2 separate regions of the Homo sapiens genome follow, and region 1 is linked to region 2. The links are contacts of gene promoters, found by promoter capture Hi-C in blood cells and fetal thymus (Javierre and others, 2016). All regions are on one chromosome and are shown on one strand. Each heading gives the region's core, a stretch centred on a gene start or on the middle of the fragment in contact. The rest is flanking DNA. Distances are from core to core; before and after follow the strand shown. Region 1 has its middle 140 kb from the start of RAMP3. Region 2 holds the start of ADCY1 (adenylate cyclase 1).

Region 1 (4,102 bases), core at 1,017-3,516, 280 kb before region 2:
TGAGTACATGAGTGTGTGTGAGTGCGTTTGTATGATTGAGTGTGTGAGTGAGTTTGCGTGCCCTCTCTGGCTGGCTGGCAGACACTGTGCACATTAAGTGTGCAAGTGCAGAGAGACTGAGAGGACATCACTTCCAAAGAGGGGAAGCTGGCCCCAGTGGAGGGTGGGGAATAGCAGGGAGGGTCAGGATCCCCATAGCCCAGGGCTGTAGGGGTTATGGAGGTACTGGTCAGTGTTAGGCCTTTGTGCTGGAAAAATCCATTCTTGCATACTCAGGGCTAAGTCTGGAGATTAAATATTCCAGCTCAGGGTCTTTTATTAGCCTTGGCAATGGCCCAGGAAAGGCCATGTCTTAGCACACTGAGTCTGAACTCATCTACTTTCTATTCACTCGACACCTGTTTATTGTCTGTCCACTTGCTAAGGCTTAGGGTTTCAGAAGTGAATAAGATGATGTCCTTGCCCTCAAGCGTCATACAGTCTGGTGAAGAACTCAGGTTCAAACAGTCTGATAAGCATTTTCTTGCTGTACTATTCAGGGTTTCTGAGAGAAACAGAGCCTATGGGAAGAGTGTCTGTGTGTGTAGATTTATTTTAAGGAATTGGCTCATGTGATTGCGGAGGCTGGCGAGTGTGAAATCTGCAGGGCAGACTGGCAGTCTGGAGACCCAGAGAGGGGTTGATATTGCAATTTTGACTTTTGAGGCCAAACGCAGCCTGGAGGAAGAGTTTCCTCTTCCTGGGGGACCTCAGTCTTTTCTCTAAGGCCTCAACTGATTGGATGAAGCCCACCACATTATGGAGGGTGGACTGCTTTACTCAAAGTCTGCTGATTTCAATGTTAATCTCATTTAAAAAACAGCCACACAACATCTAGACTGGCTTTTGACCAAATATTTGGGTACTGTGGCTCAGCCAAGTTGACATAAAACTAACCCTCCTACTTGCTGTGGTAGGAAACCATGAGAAGCCAAGTGTGGAGCCGTAGGGCGGGAGAGGCCATGTGAGTTGGGGGTCCAGGGAATCAGTGCCTGGTGGAGGATGGGACTAGCCACAGTAGATCAGGGAGTGGGAAGCAGAGGGCAGGCACTGCAAGGAGAGCAAGGCGGACTGCTAGCGCTGTGGTGCCAGTAGCGGGGGCAGGTGGCACCTGCAGCCTCCTAGCCCATGGCTCATGGGGGTGTGAAGGGGCTGATGGGGAAGCCCAGTTAAGCTGCAAGCTGGGGGAGCACTGTGCAGGGCATGGGAGGGAGATACCCTCAGATCAAAGGCTCCTGGCATTTAGAGAGGCCACATTCCCCCTTGCACATGTGTGTGTGAGCCTGGAGCTGGGTGGTATCATGTGTGCTTTTACACGATGTGCCTCAAGTTGGGAAGTCAAAGGTCTTTATGAATTGAGCTTATGAAAAACGTTGGCAGTACAGGGGAAAGTGTGTGTAGATGGGCTCTTTGGTATGCCCCCTCTGACCCTCCCAACATGGGTGACCCGGAGCCCGGCTATTTAACTTCTCTGAGTCTCAGTTAAATAGAGACCCTTGTAACATTTCACAGGGCATGGTGACATTTAATGGTGTCTGTGATAGTCCCTGGCATGTGGCCTGGCTGTGTCCCCAGCGATGGTGACAGTGTTCCTGGCAGCAAGGCCAGTGCGTTCAGTGTTGTTGCAGTGGCTTTACATGTCATTCCAAGTTTCCTGAGGAAACTCCATAGGAGTGTCTTAGGTGAATCCTTTGTTAATCCTGAAACAATGTTCTTGTGGAAACAGTGCAGAGTGCAGGCAAAGAACATGGAAGGTAAGGAAGACTTACAAACTGAGGGGTTCCCAGAAGCATGGTGGTCACTTACCTTATTTCCAAGGTTGTTGCACCTGGGACAGTGCTTTGTACCTAGTGGATGCACCATAGATATTTGTTAAACCAGCGTATACTAAGCAAGTGTGTTTGATATTTGTTAACCGTTTGGGGAACTCACATTGCAGGAAAAGCTTCAGGAGCTGAAGCTGCATGTGGTTGATGGTGGGATCCCTGCTCAGACATAGCACAGAGCTCAGCCCACGGAATGTATTTGGAGACTGCCCGGTGAAAGGGAAACCTAAAAATATGTGCGGACAGCCTCATTACTCAAATATCAACAAATACCAAGTTGCAGTCCTGGAAGAAGAGAATCTCATAAGCTTGAGCAGTAGTCCAAGAGGCATTTTAATAACACCTCCTGATTTTCCCGCAGCATATGGTCCTGGTAATTAGCACAGCTCCACATGGCTTCCCCTTGCTATAAGCCGGTGACATGACGCAAGAGAAATCAGCAGGACATTGCAGTTTATTTTGACTTAGAATGCATGCAGCTACATATGGCTTTAATAAGCTTTGAATTAATAATCCCTTTACCTCATTAATGTTTTTAAAGCAGGCTGTTCTGGTCTTTCCTGAAAGATAGGAAGACCAAAAATGTGGGATCAAAGCAGCTTTGCTGTAGTCCCAGTGCAGCTTTGCTCTGGTCCCCACGCATCTCAGGTCTCTAGAATGTCCGGTGTGCATCTCCACTGGGCACTAACTAGTGAATCTGTTGGCCTAGAGGGAAGTCTCTGATGGCCACCAGGCTCTGTCCCAGCCCGCGTCTTGATTAGCGTGTTTATCATAGCAAGGGGATTCATGAAATCTGCAGATAACATGGTGAAAGACCATTTATTTAGAGTCAAAATCTAAAATTATCTTGCCAACCTGGACAAATATCTCAGGATAAAATCTGTGAGGGAAAACTTTGAGGACTTTGATTGGGACCATTTGGCTTCAGAAAGTGTGAAAAGACTTGCTGTTAGAGAAAAGTGTTAGGCCAGTGGGATGCAGCTTTAAGAGAAGCCTGTGTCTTATACAAGGCAGACTCCATGGGGGTGTTGTGCATCATTCTGGGCAGCACTGTGTCTGGGAGATGTAAATCAGGAGGAGCGAGGACTGATGAGACAGACAAAAAAGAAAACCCATCCCAGCACTTTGGGAGGCCAAGGTATGCGGATCACAAGGTCAAGAGATCAAGACCATCCTGGCCAACAAGGTGAAACCTAGTCTCTACTAATACTACAAAAATTAGCTGGGCATGGTGGTGTGCACCTGTAGTCCCAGCTACTCAGGAGGCTGAGGCAGGAGAATCGCTTGAACCCGGGAGGCAGAGGTTGCATTGAACCGGGATTGCGCCACTGAACTCCAGCCTGGCAACAGAGCGAGACTCCATCTCAAAAAGAAAAGAAAAGAAAACCCAAAGCTTCTGGACACATCAACCCATCAACCTCTTTCTTCTCCTTGTCTCCTCAATGCCTGCCTAGGAGGAAACATCCCTGAAAGGGGTTTAAGCTTCCAATTGGTTGGTCTATTAGCTGTTCTGTTGATGAGAACACATTGCTGGTGGGAGCAGGCAGAGGATGGGGTGTCCACTCTTTAGGAGAGTCTTCCAGGGTTTCTAGAGAGAAAGCTGGGGTTTTATGGGAGCGTGCAATGGGGCTCAAGGACAATGGGAGGAGCTGAGTGCTGCCTGAGGTAGTGCCCTGGCCCTATAATTCACCTGTCAGAGCCTTGAGAAAGTTTCTGGTGCTCCCTGAGCTTGAGTTTTCTCCTCTGTACTGTGTGACATCCCAGTACCATTGTGAAAGTAAAAGAAGATCAGGGACACTGATCAGGACAACTGTAGAGTCCTGTGCCAGGGAAAGGGTCATTTTTATATTCCCAAGGTATTAAGATGGTAGCTGGGAGTAGATTCACCCAAGCTTTGTCTTCAGCCAACTTCCACCTCCCAGGAGGTTGCCAGGGGAGATATGCACAGTCAGCAAAAACAGAAGAAGAATCTCTTTATTGCTTCCTGGGGTTTTGTCCTAAACTAATGTAGTTTTATAGTGAGTTGGTCTCCTATTCTCCAGGTTGGATGTAGCCTGGGACTATGACCCAGGACAATCTCCACCCCTCTCCTTTAAGCTCACACTGGAGACTTGGACCTCCACATCTCATTACTCTGCTGGAAGAAGCAGCCAGCTCCAGGACTGCATGGGCCAGAGAGAAAAAGCAATACAAAAAAGAGAGCAGAGGATATCACAGAAAAATGGCAAAGTTGGGGA
Region 2 (4,496 bases), core at 1,974-4,473:
GGAGGCTGGAAGTCCGAGATCAAAGTGTCGGCAGGGCTGGTTGCTCTGAAGGTTCCAGGGGACCATCTCTCCTGGCTTCTGGTAGTTCCTTGGCTTGTGGCAGCATCAATCCAATTTTCACTTGGCGTTCTCCCTGTGTGTCTGTGTGTCCACATTTTTTATAAGACACCAGTCATATTGGAGGAGAGGCCCACACTACTCCAATATAGCCTCATCTTAACTAATTACATCGGCAATGACCTTATTTCCAGATAAGGCCACATTATGAGGCAGGGATTAGGACTTCAGCATATAAATGGTGGGCAGAGGGGACCACAATTCAACTTTTGACACCCACTAAGAGGACATCTTGCAATCACTTTGTCGTATCTCAGATAATTTCCCTGTTATGCCTGGTGCAAACTGCCCATCTGAAGGCCTTCTTCTTCCAACCTGGGAAATGTGGAGACAGTATTAACATATTCACAGCTCAAGTCCACACCACTGACAATAACAATTTTCAATTCTTACCCCTCCCAGGGTTTAACAACACGAGTTGGAGGACCCCCAGATTCCCACCAGAATCTGGTCCTCTCTGTGCCTTGGGGCCAGCTCCAGAGCATGTCTAGGTCTCTGCTTCTTCATCAACAAAATGAGGGTGATAAAATCTGCCTTCCAAGATGCCATGGAGCATCAATGAGAACTACAGACATGAGAATGACATGTAAACCACACCACACCATGTATCCCTGGATACTTTATTAGGACTTCATATTAGGACAAGCATGTGTGACAGTAAGCAAAGGGTACTGCACCTATGACTGAACCTCTTTCCGTCCAAAGCCTAATCTGAATCCTTATAACCTCGTTTGAAAGCAGTTGCTGCCAATCTTGCCAATGATTTTCTTTTTTTTCTTAAAGAGACAGACTCTTATTAAAAGAGAAGTCACCCAGGCTGGAGTGTAAGATCATGGTTCACTGCAGCCTCAAACTCCTGGGCTCAAGTAATCCTCCCACTTTAGCCTCCCTTAAAACTCATTTGCCGCTGGGACTAAAGATATGTACCATCACTTTCAGCTAATTTTTAAATTTTTGTTGAGATGAGGCTTCCTTATGTTGCTCAGGCTGCTCTCATGTTCCTGGACTCAAGTGATCCCCCTGCCTTGGCCTCCCAAAGTGCGGAGATTACAGGCATGAGCCACTGCACCTGTCTGAATGTCATTTTTTGAGTGAGGACAAAGTTGAGAGCCAAAACAGGTAAAAGAAGGTGCCATTTATTTGTAAACTTTGCACCCAGATTAACTTTATCATACTTTTTCATTTTCATGTAGTTTGATCCTTTTTGGATATTATTCAGCTTTTCTTTAATAAATTGTTAGGATCCAAAAATATACCACACCAGTTAACAAGAAAATCTTCACTTCAATCTTAACACTTGAAAAGAAAAATCTTGCAGACTTTGCTCCTATTTGGGGATAAGCAGGGGACTAGTGGATAGAAGAAGGTGCTTTCTCAAGTCAGTGACAGAGGTTGGGCCATGCCATCTTTTCAGAGCCAGTGCTGCCCTCTGAGGGCTTCAGCTCAAAGAGGGGAGGAAGGCAAATGAACAGAAAATGAGGCTACAGAGTGGTGGGTATGAATTTTCACGGAAGACTGGGACTGGGGAGAAAGCAACGAGCTGTGCCAGAAGGAGCCAGAAAGGTTTCAGAAAGGATGTTCTGTTGGGGATGCTATTCCAGGAGGAGGGACCAGCTGTCATCAAGTGTCTGCTGGGGGCCTTTGGTGTGAGCTACTGGGGACATGGGATGGGAAAGTGCCCCTACTCTAGACAAAGCCTAGAGGTGTCATCATCTGCAACTATTAAGTTGAAGCATATGAAAGAGCTGACATGTGACAACTTTGGCCCTTTTACAAAAACGGCAATTTTGTATGGTTCAACCTGATACCAATTCCAGATAAAATGGAAATGCCTCAAATTCTAACCTTTGTTCCGTATAACAACACGTGGAATCCCTGAGAGTTAATGGAATCCCTGGGGCATTTCTAAAATAGACCAATGCCTGGGCGAGATCCCTTAAATCCTGGTTTCTGGGAGTGGGGCCTTCTGCAGGGGGCCTAGCCTCCTGGTCTCCATTATTTCATGGGATCCCAGTTCCTGGTCTATCCATATTGAGGGGACGAGAAGCAGCCGGGATAACGGAGGAGGCAGGGGTTCTTGCAGTGGCTACTCCTCTCTAGGCCTCCTGGAGGGAGCTGATCATGAGAGATCCTCACTGTAAGGGGGATGCAGGCAGCCCAGGGGCCGTCTGAGCACCAAATGACATCATGTACTTGAAGCACCAGCACAAAGTTGTCTCCCTCATAGTGAATGAATGTAAGCAGTGGAATTCGACTCGCGGGTTTTAACCCCCATGGGCCAGCGTCCTTCCCTCCCAATTGTCCTGCTAGAAGAAAACGTTTCGCTCTCTCTCGGGTATCCAGCTAATCGTTAAGGCAAACAGCAGCGCCCCTTTTCCTTTCATCTCTTGCCCCATTTCTGCACCTACAGCCTCACACCTTCTTCCCGGGACACAGCACTGCCAGGAGCCCATCCTGGTTCAGTTCAGTACCCAGGAGGAATCCCTCGGGCCGACTCCCAGGACTTTGTTTCTTGGACTTCACCACCGCCGCCTCCCCAGCACAGCTCCCGCAGCCCGCACCCGCCCACAGGGTCTCCGCGACCCTAGAGCTTAGGGAAGAATTGCCGAGGGGCGGGGGGTCCCTCATGCGCATGGAAGGGACGTACGCCCCAGGCCTCCACCTTCCTCCTGACCCCGGGGATTCTTGGACGTCGATTCTCCGTCTCGTAGGGGCGAGGGCCCTGGGTTCGCAGTCAGACGCGGGCCCCTCTCAAATCTAGTGGCCTGGTTTTATTGAGTGGGGGAAGGCACATATTTTCCAAGATTAACTGCCCCGCAACAGGGAATTTCGCAGGATTTCAGTATTTTCGACTCCCCAGGTGACGCCAAGAGGGTGGGTTCCACTGTGCACGGTGGGGAAACTGAGGCTCGGAGGGGACAAGGAAGGTACTCGAGGTCACGCGGCTCCTCCGGCGGGCGGGAACGCAGGACGCGGAGTTGGGGCGCGGGCTGTGCGCGCCCAGGTTCGCGGCTCCCGGGGCTCGGCTGTCGCAGCGCGGTCGCCGCCGAGGACCACGGTCGGGGCGCGGGCGGGCTCCAGTGCGCAGGCGCGGCGGGCGGGAGGGGACGCGCTCCGGGCGCGCGCGCGGGGCAGCCGGCGCCCCAACTCCGCCCGCCCCGCGCCCCGCGCCCCGGCGCCTCGCCGCCCGCCGCCCGCCCGCCCCGGCGCCGCCGCCCGCGCCCCGGCGCCCCGGGCCGGCGAGGGGCGCGCCCGCGGCCGCGGCCGCTGCATGGCGCTGAGATGGCGGGGGCGCCGCGCGGCGGAGGCGGCGGCGGAGGCGGCGCGGGCGAGCCCGGGGGCGCCGAGCGGGCGGCCGGGACAAGCCGCCGGCGCGGGCTCCGGGCGTGCGACGAGGAGTTCGCTTGCCCAGAGCTGGAGGCGCTGTTCCGCGGCTACACGCTGCGGCTGGAGCAGGCGGCCACGCTGAAGGCGCTGGCCGTTCTCAGCCTGCTGGCGGGCGCGCTGGCGCTGGCCGAGCTGCTGGGCGCGCCGGGGCCCGCGCCCGGCCTGGCCAAGGGCTCACACCCGGTGCACTGCGTCCTCTTCCTGGCGCTGCTCGTGGTAACCAACGTCCGGTCCCTGCAGGTGCCCCAGCTGCAGCAGGTCGGCCAGCTGGCGCTGCTCTTCAGCCTCACCTTCGCGCTGCTCTGCTGTCCTTTCGCGCTGGGCGGCCCCGCCCGGGGTTCCGCCGGGGCCGCTGGGGGGCCAGCGACCGCCGAACAAGGGGTTTGGCAGCTCCTTTTGGTCACCTTCGTGTCCTATGCCTTGCTGCCCGTGCGCAGCCTGCTGGCCATAGGCTTTGGGCTCGTGGTGGCTGCGTCGCACTTGCTGGTCACAGCCACCTTGGTCCCCGCCAAGCGCCCACGTCTCTGGAGGACGGTAAGTGCAGCCGCGCACCCCTCATCTGGTCTCGGACACACTTGCTGGGACGATGCTGGGAATGCCCGGAGTCGGGCGCGCTTTTTCCTATGCGGCGGGTGGGGACACTGAGGCTCCGAGTGGGGGTGTGTTCAAGGTCACTCCTACGAGTTGGGGACGCAGTCGGGGCTGGCACCCTCCGGCCAGGGCTCTCTTCAGAGTTACAATCCACGAAGCGCCCCTGGCGTGAAGTGTGGAGAGGGGAGACAGGTGTGGAGAGAGAAAGGTTTGGCCAAGGTCAGGGAGCTGATGAGCGGCCAGACGGCGGCCAGAGGGGTCCGCCGGTCTTTTGCCGCACCCATCCCCACAGAGGGACTGAAAGTGGGCGAGGAGAGCAGACCCCCAGGGCAAGCTCCAAGGCCGGCTCTGCGCGCAGCGCTGGGCTCTTCCCCTGCGCACCTAGAGCGCGTGCTGGGCTC

Evidence for each region. Contacts are between HindIII fragments. The CHiCAGO score rates a contact against its expected background, and 5 or more counts as called.
Region 1: a contact is called between a fragment that was not itself captured here and the fragment with the promoter of ADCY1 in region 2, in 1 of 17 cell types (M1 macrophages). The highest score is 7.7, in M1 macrophages.

What each region holds. Positions count from the first base shown.
Region 1 is chr7:45,293,132-45,297,233 of GRCh38, forward strand. No RefSeq gene overlaps it. Among named protein-coding and RNA genes, the nearest start is that of RAMP3, 140 kb to the left of the region's middle. The HindIII fragment of the contact is 191 bases long and covers 2,172-2,362 here.
Region 2 is chr7:45,571,145-45,575,640 of GRCh38, forward strand. It overlaps ADCY1 (adenylate cyclase 1), which reads left to right and starts at 3,224. Exons shown (of 20, transcript NM_021116.4): 1 at 3,224-4,038. The coding sequence starts at 3,400. RefSeq lists an enhancer at 2,238-2,798 and a silencer at 3,610-3,709. The HindIII fragment of the contact is 15,544 bases long and covers 1-4,496 here.